Linked DNA regions of Homo sapiens: region 2 is linked to region 1. The links are contacts of gene promoters, found by promoter capture Hi-C in human tissues and cell types (Jung and others, 2019). All regions are on one chromosome and are shown on one strand. Each heading gives the region's core, a stretch centred on a gene start or on the middle of the fragment in contact. The rest is flanking DNA. Distances are from core to core; before and after follow the strand shown. Region 1 holds the start of DYNC2H1 (dynein cytoplasmic 2 heavy chain 1). Region 2 overlaps DYNC2H1 (dynein cytoplasmic 2 heavy chain 1).

Region 1 (7,150 bases), core at 1,575-4,074:
GCAATCACTCTGGATTTTTTTTCTTGCCCCTGGAAACTAAGTTAAAACCCAGCTCAGGGCCTTGGTACTTACAGTTTCTTTTGCTTAGAACACTCTTCCCCCAGGTTATGCCTGCCTGCAACTCATCATTCAAATCTCGCTTCAAAGATAACTAATCCAGAGAGGGATTATCTCCCACCCTATATATCTTTAGTTCCCCACGCTGCCCCATCACTACTATAACATTATTTTTATCTTAACGGCACTTATCAATACCCAAAATTATGTTACATATATCTGTAGCATGCGTTTAGCCTACCTTTGTCCATTCCAATGTTACTCCTTTAAGATACGGACTCTGTGTTCATGGCTTTGTCCCCAGTACTAGTAGGTAGGCAATAAATATTTGCTGACTTATTAACTTATTGAATCACGCTAACTATCAGGCAACTAAAGTACAACTGAAGACATAACAAAATATTTTCAAATATGACTAAAAACCTGTAGCGAAGTGTACAACTAAAAATAACAGATACATCGTTGGGCTTTACTAGTAATAGCTTTAACTTAAAAAAAAAAAGTTCTACCTTCAACTTTCAAATACCCAAGCCAAGATACACTTTCACGAATCCAAACCCCTTTCCATCTTTCCTACTGCATTCTATCCGAACTTTCAGTGGCATTTACAACAGTGTGTCCTGATTTTATCATTTGCTGAGTATATGTCATCCTAAGCCACTGGAGTGAGTCTAGGAAAGGCAGAAAGCAGGGGGCTCTATCCTGAACTACGCTACCTATTGGAGAAAAAGAAAAGTTAACATTTAGGTTGTAAATTTTGTCCCTTACTTTCCTCAGCCATAAAATAAGAAAAAGAATAGTTCCTATCTTACAATGTCGTTATGGCTATTAAATGAACGAATACATATAAAGTACTTAGAACAGTGCTTGACAGAGTCTAAAGTGAAAATAAATGTTAGCTATGATTATCCATCCTTTTTATATCTTTGTAAACCCATCATGCCTGGCAAAGTGCCTTGCATGTACTGAGTTCAAAGTAAATGTTTATTAAATACAATCGAATTAAACCTAAGAATAAAGATAGTGAATAGGGTGAATGATTCAATCATCCTATAAAAATGCACTGAAGCCAGGCACGGTGGCACACACCTGTAATCCCAGCACTTTGGGAGGCCAAGGCGGGTGGATCACCTGAGGTCAGGAGTTCGAGACCAGCCTGACCAACATGGTGAAACCCCATTTCTACTAATTGCAAAAAATTAGCTGGGTGTGGTGGCACATGCCCTGTAATCCCAGCTACTTGGGAGGCTGTGGCAGGAGAATCGCTTGAACCCGGGAGGCAGAGGTTGCAGTGAGCCAAGATTGTGCCATTGCACTCCAGCCTGGGTAATACGAGCGAAACTGCGAACTGCGTCTAAAAAAAAAAAAAAAGGCACTGAATGTTTTTGCTGAGTGTCAAAAACTCTGCTAGACCTAGGGATAAGGGTGAACACCAAAGGAAGAGGTTTAAAATATGTCTTTGTTTTATTAACTTAAATCTATTTACTGAGTCCCCTTTAATGTGTCAGGCAATTTTCTTCTGTGTTTTTCTTTTAGGCTTATATATATAAGCCCTGATTGCAAATGCAACCCATTTTTTAAGCAATCCTGCCAGTGGAGGGAGCAGTGCAATTAATAAATCAGTATATCACATGATGTACACCAAAAAAGAATTCAAACTTTATTTTGAAATATATCATTTCACAAAAATTTAAATTCCTAACTAATCTTTCCCTTGGGCAATGTTAAAATCAGAGCCTGATCCAAAAAAGATAGACTAGAATTTGCCTTCCCCCCAAAAAAAAAACTCAAAAAGGGGAGAGAAAAAAATAAAAATAACTAAGTAAATGTTTTCTTTTTAGTTATAACGTATCTGCAGTCTTTCTTAAAAAGTAGAATATAGGCCGGGCGCGGTGGCTCATGCTTGCAATCCCAGCACTTTGGGAGGCCGGATCACTTGAGGTCAGGAGATGGAGACCCACATGGCCAACGTGGTGAAACCCCCGTCTCTACTGAAAATACAAAAATTAGCCAGGCGTGGCGGCGCGCGCCTGCTACTCGGGAGGCTGAGGCACGAGAATCGCTTGAACTCAGGAGGTGGAGGACGCAGTGAGCAGAGATCGCGCCACTACACTCCATCCAGCCTAAGCGACAGAACGAAACTCCGTATAAAAATTTAAAATAAAACACAATCTAATTGCTTCTATTCAGATGTATGGAAGGGAAACATGCTTCGGTCAGGTAGGATGCAAAGCTTGGAAACTACCTGCTTAAGCACGAGGCCAACGCATCTAAGCCAATAATGCAGGAGAAGTGGAGACAGCCTTGGGTTCCTGAAAAGGATCTGGTTGGTAAAGCTAAAGAGTGTGACCCGACGTCCCTCTGGCTGGGCCTGGGGACTTGAAGAGTGGTCAGGGGTCAGGCAGGAGTGCAAGGAACCGTACCGTGTTGGAAAAGGAGATTCCTGCGTCGGATCGCTGCACCCTGAGGAGCATCTGGTTGCCGTCATCCAAGAAGTTGTTGATTTCAAGACAGTTGCACAACAGTGGCTGATCCCAGAGTTCAGACATCAACCCGAAGTAATTCTGGGTAGTAGTGAAGATGAAGAGCTTCCGAACGTCCGCAGTCCCGTTCGCCATGATTGGAAGGGGTGGAGGGAAGTTGGGGGAAGGGGGAAGGAAGAAGAAACCAGTCCGGAGGGAAGTGAAGGGAAGAGAGGAGCTTTGCTCAAACCCGTAGCCCGACCGCGGGACCGCAGAGCTTCGCGGTTGCCAGGGGTAGTCGCTATGGCGACGGAGCACTACGGCGGCGTCGCTGGCGGCGCGCGGTGGGCGTTGCCCTCTCGGGGCACGCGCACGCAAAGCTCGCGGAGGCTATCGACCGCCTCGGAGCTCTTCAGCGGCTCCCTGCGGTCATCGATTGTAAGGGGTTCGGACAAGTTTATGTTGGCTCTCAAACATGTCTTTTATTCTTCTTACTGATTTCTTATCACGCATAATCAGAAGAGAGACATCTAGCCTTCAAGTACAGCAGCGTGATCTAGATTTAGGAGAGCTGGGTTCCAGTGCTCGCTCTCCACGTGCACCTGGTAGCAAACCAGTCTGTCAGCGTCAAGGTACACATCTGTTAAGAAGGGGAAATACTATCTCACAACCAGGGGTGTAGTGCGGATTGTAAAAGATTACTATTTAAAAATCGCTTTTTAGAGAAGCTTATAAAGACTAGGAATTCAATACAATGTTAATTTACTTTCTCAGTCGCCCTCTGCTCCTTTCTGTGCTGCTGCATTTCCCAACATCGTTTTTTCTATTATTAATTTTAGAATAATTTAACCAGCAATTTTTTATTGCAATCATTACCCGAGCACAACCATATTTGTAAAATAGCTAAAATGTAAAATGATACTTTTTAGTTTATTTTATAACAACCGCAACCAAATTCTGTGAAAATACAGATATGAAAACGGTCTTTGTCATTTTCTACTTCATGGCATTACTATAAACTACTAAATTGCTGGTCATTCATCCGAACATTCGTCAAACACTTTCTCAATTCAGTAATTCTCTTCTAAAAATATTTACTACATGCTATTAGGTTGGTGCAAACGTAATTGCGGTTTTTTGGCAAGAACTGTAATTACTTTTGCACCAATCTAACACAATTTGCCAAGTACCGAACTAGGCCCTGGGGACACAGTTCCTGCCCTCAGGAAGTTTTTGCTGTAGTCATTCATCACCTCAGCACTGGTTTGACCCAAGATCCTAGGGTACACAAACATATGCAGATTTTTTTTGTTTGCACTTAATAATCATAACCTCCCCTTAAAACTATACTATTTGAGAATTGGAAGGAGAGAGTCCTTTTATTTGCTGAGCAACTTAAGATTTTGGAGTGGGAACTTAAAAAAGCTGAACTGCTCTAAATTATAAAAGGAAATGAATGTAAATTCTCATGAAATATCCAAACAGTGAGAGATGGGAGTCTGGCCACTGGATGGGAAAACATCCAAACAGTGAGGTGGGATGCTGACCACTGGGTGAGGGAAAAAATCCTAACAGGAACCCAAGATGACTGTGTAGCTAATAAAAAGATTTTGAAAGCCAAAGTGACCACTATGGTTACAGAGTTTCCTGCTCTGCAATGAGCATTATCACTCTTACCAAGGTCTTCAGGAAAGTCTCCATTACCCACAAGTGCTCGGTTTGGTGAGTTGTTTTGGTGGAAATGTATGAAATGGCTGAATTGAGCTTCCATAACAATATGGTAAATAAAAAGGCAACACATGTAGGAAGATGAGTCTAGAAAGCAGATGAGATCATGAGTATGTGATCCTCCCAAGAATTTTTAGAACTCTTCAGGAAACTTAGGGCTTCCACAAACTATGAAATTGTGTTTGAATCAAGTTTAACACCGATCTCAAACATGGAAGCTCCCGTTGACATGTAAACCCCATGAAATAGAAGTTTTGTGTTTCCTTTTCACTACTATATACGAAAAATGAGGCACAGAGTGGGAAGAAAAGACAGATACGGACTTTATGTATTGTATCAAGCATACAATAAAGAAGAAAGAACCTCACAGATTAAATAACTTACACAAAAACACAGAGATGGTAAGTGGTAGAACCAAGATTCCTACCAAAATCCAATTCTGAGCCAATCTCTATATACCATATCACAGTGTTAGCCAGATATCCACCAAAATCTATTTTTCCCTTCCATAGCTAAGAAGTGGCTACCATCCAGGTGTGGTCATGTGACTAATTCTCACCAATAAAATGTGAGAAGAAGTAATGTGTGCGTCTTCAAGGCAAAGTTTTAAAGAAGTGAGAATACCTTAACTTTTGCCAGCTGGTTGCAGATAACAATAAAGCAACAGGGATGGCAAAACTTTCCAAGAGTAGGACCCTAGGATCCTGAATCACAGAGTGGAATAATGTCTGCAGTTGTTAAATAAGCAAGAAATAAGCTTTGTTGTGTTTGAGGCATTGTACATTAAACTGTGTGGGCTATTTTTATGGCAATTTAGGCTACTCTAACCAAAAGAGTAATTGATATCCATAGTGTAGTAATGATTTTTTTTTTTAATGTGGAGCATTGTCTTAGCAGTTGTCTGGCAGGTGGCATAAAAACAGGTAACGTGAGCTGAAGGGGAAGGCCCAAAACTTTCTGAGACAGGGTTTCCTAATTTTGTCCTATATGCCATTTCCCAAACTTTTTGGTGACCTTTTTATACTTTATACTTTAAACAATTATTTTTATACTTTAAAAAATTACTGCCAGGCACAGTGGCTCTCGCCTGTAATCCCAGCACTTTGGGAGGCTGAGGCGGGCAGATCATGAGGTCAGGAGTTTGAGACCAGCCTGGCCAATATGGTGAAACCCCGTCTCTACTAAAAATTCAAAAATTAGCCGGGCACAGTGGCGCACACCTGTAATTCCAGCTACTCGGGAGTCTGAGGCAGAAGAATAGCTTGAACCTGGGAGGCAGAGGTTGCAGTGAGCCAAGATCGTGCCACTGCACTCCAACCTGAGTAACAGAGCAAGACTCTGTCTCAAAAAAAATAAAATAAAAAAAATTACTGAAGACTTCAAAAGGATTTTGTTTCTGTAGTTTATTTCTATCAACATTTATTGTAATCAAAATTAAAACTGAGAAATTTTTGAAATATCTATCTATCTTAAAATAAGCATAATAAGACCATTCTTGGTAAAATAAATAACATTTTTATGAAAATAATTATATTTCTAAAAGGCAAAAAAAAATGATGAGAAGAATGGCATTGTTTTTACATTTTTGTTAAGTCCCTTTCCTGTCTGCCTTAACAGAAGACAACTGGATCCTCTATGTTCTTCTGCATTCCATCTCTTGCAATACGTTGTTTGGATTGAAGTATATAGAGAATATCCAGCCTCACACAGATATGTAGTTTAAAAATTGAGAAGCTAAAAAATGAAGATTTTAATAGATGCTTGTGAATATTCTTTTATACTAAACTAACATTCCACAAGTAGTAGTTTCTTAAAGGATAGTTAAAATTTGGAATTTGGAACCAGATCAATGAATATTTCATACTCAGTTACATTAAAATCCATTGGTTTTCTAGCACTTTGAATGTATCTTTTGCTCGCACATAATTTCATAACATCATACATTGGTCATTTAGAAAGTATTGGTTCCTAAGCTATGAAGATCTTCCAAATATTGATACATTTGCTTATATAATATTTTTAAAATCACATTTATTAATACACCACTGATCTTATAAGAAAAAGTCTTTTTAGAGACAGGGTCTTTCTCTGTCACCCAAGCTGGAGTGCAGTGGCTTGATCATACCTTGCTGTAGTCTCAAACTCCTGTGCTCAAGTGATCCTCCCACCTCAGCCTCCTAAAGTGCTGAGATTACAGGAATGAGCCACCTCGCCTGGCCAAGAAAAAGTCTTTATGTATGGAGAGGTTGTCAAACTTACAGTAGAGAATTTAAGTTATCCAAGATTCTAATTTTTGCAGGAACACTTGAATTTTATCATTGGCCACAAATAAGGTCAATTGTTTCCCTGGAAGTGATAAGCTCATTTCATTCATTTTTAAGAAAAATTTCTGCCAAATATCAAAGTCTGAATAACATTATTTTGTTATTCTTTCAAGTAAAAATGGTCTTCCATGAAAAAAAAACAGCTAGTTTTGACCATAACTCAGACAATCACAAAATTATTTTCCTTGAAACAGGCCATTATTAATACTTCAATGCAGCAGTGTTTTACGGTATATTATTTCATTGTTCAAAATATTGAAATGACTAGTACTGAAGGTTTAAGATTTAATGAAAAGAATAAATTTTACTCCTTCATCCAGGAGATTCTTAAATGAAACTGGAATCTTTTCCAGTGAATGCATGCATGTGAAGAATAGATGATTAGTAAAGCAGTTTGGTGCCCCACCCTTGATTTGTGTCAATTTGCCAGCTGTTTTAGCCACTGCATTGTTTTACATTGTTGTGTAACAAACTACTACAAATTTAGTGGCTTAAAATAACACCCATTTATTAGCTAAAAGTCTGATAAGTCAGGAGGCTGGGTGCTGCATGCTAAGGGTCTCACAGGCATAAATCAAG
Region 2 (6,754 bases), core at 2,418-4,917, 50 kb before region 1:
ACAACTGTTCCAAAGTTTTCTTCATTTCTAAGGCCAAATCATTCAACCATGTCTGAAAAAGAAATTGGAAAATAATATAAACAAGACATAAAATAAACTGGAAAATAATATATATAAGACATAAAATAAATATACAATCTACTAACTCTATACTGTTATTTCAAGACGGGGTATTATACTTTCCTATTGATCATTACACTCCTAAAATGTGTTATAGGAATATAATTCTTTATTTTCTTAATAAACAGTTTAAATAATTTGAATAAAACAATTTTTTCACCTCTTAGGATAATGATGAGTGTGAAAACATAAATTTGTGGCTAACACTACCATGACTATATCTATACAAGCCAATATAATATGAGCATTTAAAAGTCGACCCATTCACTTCATCATTATGATGAATCAAACCAGATAGTTTGGCCAATAAATCAGGGTCAAAATGGCTGGCTAAGTTCCTGGCTCATGCCATCCTGATGATCTTATATTCATAAAGTCGTAACCATAGGAAGGGATTGCTTCATCAGGATGAAATGTATTATTTGGGGGCTTAGATTGCTTCATCCAACAAAACTAATTTTGTTTCAAAGTGAAAAAAAATGTATTTTTCCACTCACTTGATTATATATAAAATAATAAAAAGTTAAAATAACAATGATTGATAAACAATGAATATTTATGAATCACTTCTTAACCTTAAAAATATATCATTTGTAATAAAAAGGCAAAAGCTGCAATCTTAGCCTCTCATCATTGCGTACTTAAATAACTCTGTGTTCCAGCTTTTTTTTTCAATCTGTAGAGCATTCTCCAGTATTGAAAATAGCATCAAAATTCACTGAAGCTAGAGTGAGAATCTGCCTCTCAGTGCATGGCAACAGACACATCTACTCTGCTAACAATCATAAAGCTTCCAGAGTTTCAACTTTTCCTTTGCTGGTATACCTGCTCTAGCCCAGTTGCTAAAATTTAAGCTCTGTCCCTCTGTGTATATCCAACAAAACTACAAGAGAGGAAAAAAAACAAAACTCTTAACCAAATATGATTAGCAAATCTCCCAGGTTTTCAATCAACTGATTTATGTACTCAATATCCAATAAAATGTTGCAACCTAACCAGGAATAAACATTTTGCTAGGCTGTATGGACATGCACATGGTAAGGCATGGGCCCTGGCTTCCAGGTGGAAGATAATTTGAAATTGAAAAGTTACAATTCCATGTGATGCAATCTATTGCTAGTTAGTTTTAGCTATATGCCTATAATAGGCCTTTGATCAGTTTACTTCCAGTCCTGCAGAACCAGTTAATCAATAGTTGTTCGCTTACTTGTTCACCCAAATCATCTTATACAAATTCATATTTTAAAGAGTAAAGACAACTAAAATGTATTGAGTACCATGTTCCAAGCACTAAATAGTGTACTTAAAGCCAATTATCTCATTTAATTTTTAATTGAAAGTCTTTGCAACAGTTACAGGTTGAACATCCCTAATCCGAAAATCCAAAATCCAAAATCCTCCAAAATCTAAAACTTTTTGAGGTTGACATGATGCTCAAAGGAAACACTTATTGGAGCATTTTGGATTTTCACATTAGGGATGCTGAACTGACATAATGCAAATAGTCCAAAATCTAACAAAATCTGAAATCTGAAACACTTCTGGTCCCAAATACTTTGGATAAGACATACTCCACCTGTACTGAGATTACCATTTTACTGATTAGAAAAACAACACTGTAAGTCACATAGCTATTAAGTTGTGGAGCTAAGATTAATATCTAAGATTTTTTACTCCAAGGCCAAGGTTCTTTTCATAATTACAGGCTGCCTTCCAAAGACTACAAATCCATATTCTTTTTAATATCAAAATACTCCGAAACTAACAAAACAAATCATTTTTAAGATATGAGCTGAGTTTCCTAAAATACCTAAATTAACCAACTTTACCCTCTAAATTGACTAAATTATTTTAGACACAAAGTTCATATATAGTTAATTCTTTTTGTTTTCATATTTGAAAAAGAATTGCTTACCTCTACATTATTTGATAGAGGAACTTTATTTTTAAAAGGTACAACTTCTCCCTCTAAAGATTTCATTGCAGTTATATGTTTTGATTTCTCATCAAAGCAAACACTGTTAATACCTGAAATATAAAAGCAATGATTGAATTGCAAAAGGATTAAAGACATAATTATTAGATACAATATGTGTCACATAGTGTTAATATATACCCTAAAACATATATAATAATCAAATTATAATGTATACCACATAATATATAGTGCTCCTAGTGTTTAAATGTCCTATTGAGGGAAAAAAATCACTTTCTGAATCAATATTCTTATCACTCATCTGAAATATTTCTTATCAATATCTATCTATATGTGACAGGATTCACTGGTGAAATTTGTGAATGTTTATTTAGATATTTCTATATATGTTTGTTTATTCATTCCTACCATTTTCCAGAATAAAAAATTTAGGCAACCTAATCAACTACTACGTACCAATCAGTAAGAATTGTCCTAACTCACATTCTTGGGGGAGTGAAAAATGTTATAACCTCTTTGGAAAATGATTTGGCAGTTTCTAAAAAAGTTAAACATATATTTACTATATGACTTAGCAATTCCAAAACTAGGTGTTTATCCAATACAAATAAAAATGTATGTCTACAAAAAGACTTGTATGATTGTTTACAACAGCTTTATTCGTAATAGCCAAAAACTGGAAATAACCCAAATGCCCATGAACAGGTAAATGTGTTGAAGGCAAATAAGACTTCCCTTTCCCCCAAATTTGCATATTACTTTATAGTATATAAAAAACTTGAATATATTATGTCATTTTGATCTTCACAAAAAAACTATATTATTATTTGCAATATAAAGAAAAAACTAAATTTCAGAGAGGTAACTTGATAACCAATTAATAAACAATAGAGAAATTGGTTGAATAAAAGGGTTCTGATTGCAAGAGTTTGTTTTCTACTACTTCCCATTGCCCAAATCATAGTTACAAATATAAGCATCCTAAAGCTTCAGATACACAGGAATTGATGAATATTTCTGTACAGGACCAGAGAGTAAATATTTTAAGTCTAATGGACCATATGGTCAGTGTCAACTACTCAACTCTGCATTCATAGCATGAAAGGTATAGACAACAATACATAAACTACCGTGCAGGATTATGTTTCAACAAAACTTTACTTAAAAACAACAAGTAGTGAGCCAGATTTTGGCCCATGGGTTATATTTTGCTGATCCTTGATTATTAGTTAAAATGATGAAAATTATTTTACTTCATAAATTTAATTTGAAAAATACAGCTCTTTTCTATAGAGCTGTTTGCTCTATAGAAGAAGTCATTTGCTTGCGCTTTCCAAGTAAATTAAGTATTTTAAGAAAATAATAGTCATTATTTTGGTAATAAACCTATTCCATTTGCCACTAATAAGTATCCCATTAAAGTGACTCTACAACATCAAAGCATTTGACATTACAGTTTTCCCCCAAGTAATCTCACCTGTTCCCATAGCTTACTATTATTTCTATATGGATGACTCCTACATTCTCACCTAGGTCTCTTCACTGACAATAACTGCCTATGGAGTATCTCCACCTGTATGTCATTCAGGACACCTTAAACTCTATAAGGAAGAGGCATATTCTCCTTCACTACAGGCCTTTGCACAGCCTATACCCACTGCCTGCCTGCCTTTTTCTAACTAAGGCCTATACATTCTTCAGATATCGCCCTAGATGTCACTTACTTCATGATGCCCTAAAACTGAGCTAAATGCCCTCACAGATGGACCTATAGCACCACATACTTATGTCAATCACCAGAATTGTCACACTGTATTATATTTGTCAACTTACAACCTTGTCTCTCCCATTAAACTGTACATTCTTTGGGTACAGGAACTGTATTTGGGTATATGAACTGACTGCTGTATTCAGTAGTCTACCTAAGAGCATAATATTAGGCCTGGCAGACAGTTGAAACTCAATAAATATCTGTTAAATAAATGTTGAATCCTACCAGCAAAAAGCTTCTTCAGGTGAGACTGAATCACTGATGGGTTGGTAGACTGGCCCAATATTTCTAATAAGTCATCATCACCAATAAAATAAAATCTTGGGAATGCTGAGCGTTTTTCCTAATAAAAATAGAAACAAAAAATAGCTTTCTTTTTTTCAGATAATTAAGATATCAAGTACTTTACAATTTATTATATATTTTTTTCTTAAAAAACATGCCTCCAAAAATTCATTTAATGATTTCTGACATCTTTGAAGCTGATCAAGTATTGTTAGTAGAGAATTTCTTATTCCAGCATGAGTAGTTAATGTTGTGACTCTATTGTCTTTCTTGATATCAGTCATTATTGATCTACAAAAGAAAAAAAAGTATCTTCACATCTACTTTAACAATTTGGGGGGGTAAGAAAAACAGATTAAGACTTTTTTTACCTGCTTAAAATGAACTAAAGGTAACACTATTATAACAGTATTACACCTCTAGGAATGTTAAATATTAATATCACACTATCATTTTTAACTTCTTATATTTTAAATTATCTTATATATTTCATTTGCTAAGCTAATTTTTTTATTTTTTGAGATGGAGTCTCGCTCTGTCTCCCAGGCTGGAGTGCAGTGGCGCAATCTCTGCTCACTGCAAACTCCGCCTCCTGGGTTCCTGACATTCACCTGCCTCAGCCTCCCAAGTAGCTGGGAATACAGGCACCCGCCACCGCGCCTAGCTAATTTTTTTGTATATTTTAGTAGAGACGGGGTTTCACCGTGTTAGCCACGATGGTCTCGATCTCCTGACCTCGTGATCCGCCCGCCTCGGCCTCCCAAAGTGCTGGGATTACAGGCGTGAGCCACCATGCCCAGCCTTGCTAAGCTAATTTTAAGCCCTACCTCATAGAGCTAATGGTCCAGTGACAGCAAAAGACATCAAATAATTTCTAGAAATATTTAAATAAAATTGTGATAAATGTTAAAAAGGAAAAGTAAAGTATTGTTAAAATGGCTAACAGGGCAACCCATAACCTAGGACTTCTTTAAGGAAGTAATTTAAATTGATATGCAGATGAAGAATAAAATGAAAAAGTGAGTGAGTAGAAGACGTTTCTGGCAAAGATTCTGGGAAGAAGATAGGTATGACCGAGAAACTAAAAGCTAGAGTCACTAAAGCAAAATGGAGAGCAGCACAAGAAAAGGATAGAGAAATGAACAAGGAGCAGATCATGCTTTATCCCTAGCACAATGGGAAACTATTTTAAAGTTTTATTTACAGGAGTAAAAGAAAGTGCTGAACCTGCATTTTTAAACAATTACTCTGGCTGTTGTGTGAAAAACTTATATTATACAAGAGCAAGTCAGAAGGTTAATGTGCGTAGTCCAAGTAAGAGATACAGAACATTAGAATAGAAGTACAGATATACTTCTGTACAGGTATTTGGCTCAAGATATACTAAGCAGGTTAGAATCAACAAAATTTGGCAACTTAATGTATGTAAAAGTGGAGGAAGAGGGAGATATCAAAGTTATCCATCATGTCTCTGCTTTCAGCAATTAGGTTGGGCCATTTATTGAAATAGGAATCAGAAAGAAGAAAGATTTGTTGGAAAGGAACTGGTAAATTAAGCTCATGGATTCAGTTTTAGCCTACTATTTGAGCATGTTTGGTAGATTTGGAGCTCAGAAGAGAAATATGGGCTGTACATGTAAGTTGAGGAGACCTCAGCATATAAAAGAGAACTGATGCTGGCAGTGGTTAAGATTACCTGAGAATACAGTGAGAAAAAAATCGAAGGCTGAGGCCTGGAGAATGACTACATCTAAAGATTTGGAGACAGCTAAGGACTAGGAACTATGTGTTGAACTAGAGAGACAGTCAGAAAACCAAGAGAGGACGAAATCACAGAAGCCAATGGAAGAGACTTTCTAAGAAAGAAGAAATGCTCAACTCTATTAAATACTAATGAGAGATAAAGTAAAATAAAAATTGAAAATGCCTTTTGAATTTAAAAGAGAAAGTAATTAGTGATTTTATGAAGTATGTATTATTAGGTAGAGTGGTAATAACAGAGACCACACCATAATGGTTCAAGAAGTAAATGCTTGAATGAGAGAATAGCTTCTCAAAAGGATCCACTAGGAAAGAATTTGAATACACAGAGGATACCAATCATGTAAAAGTAATTTGCCTGTATTAAGCACTTCACAATATGAATTAATTTAAAAAAAATACCATATGTGTCTATGTCTTACATCATTGTACTGACCTAAAATCTTCATCAACTCTGTTGAAGCGTGTCTGTTCTTTTGGCAATGCTCCACGGCCGAAAATGGGTTCCAAATACACCCACTTTCTCTGAATATGATTTAAATTCTGCAGGTATTCATCTAACTCTGCAAGTTTTCTTTCCCAAATTGATACTTTATCTTCAAATCCTTTATAATAAGGAGAATCCTTTAAGGATTGGAGAAGGCATCTATTATCTCCAACCTGATTTACTATATCTTTCCAGTCTTTAATCAGCTTCATAGTTCGACTTTGGCTGTCTTCATAATCAATTAATGTAAACACTGCTCCAACTCCCCAAAGATCAAGTTCACGTAAAGCTTCTCTGATTGTAACTTCACCTTGTGCCCGACTATTTAAATCCTATTTAACACAAAATATCCATGTTTATTACTTCAACATTAATTTTCACATAAGTAATTAAT

Evidence for each region. The method cuts DNA at HindIII sites, captures the fragments that hold promoters and counts their contacts. A contact is called where the count stands out against the background at its distance.
Region 2: a contact is called between a fragment that was not itself captured here and the fragment with the promoter of DYNC2H1 in region 1, in 1 of the 25 tissues and cell types used here (H1 embryonic stem cells).

What each region holds. Positions count from the first base shown.
Region 1 is chr11:103,105,100-103,112,249 of GRCh38, reverse strand. DYNC2H1 (dynein cytoplasmic 2 heavy chain 1) reads right to left here and starts at 2,824. Exons shown (of 89, transcript NM_001377.3): 1 at 2,481-2,824. The coding sequence starts at 2,675. RefSeq lists enhancers at 2,992-3,041, 3,112-3,231. The HindIII fragment of the contact is 3,230 bases long and covers 897-4,126 here.
Region 2 is chr11:103,156,326-103,163,079 of GRCh38, reverse strand. It overlaps DYNC2H1 (dynein cytoplasmic 2 heavy chain 1), which reads right to left. Exons shown (of 89, transcript NM_001377.3): 26 at 6,310-6,692; 27 at 4,271-4,403; 28 at 4,053-4,170; 29 at 2,036-2,148; 30 at 1-52. Among named protein-coding and RNA genes, the nearest start is that of DYNC2H1, 50 kb to the right of the region's middle. The HindIII fragment of the contact is 3,379 bases long and covers 1,978-5,356 here.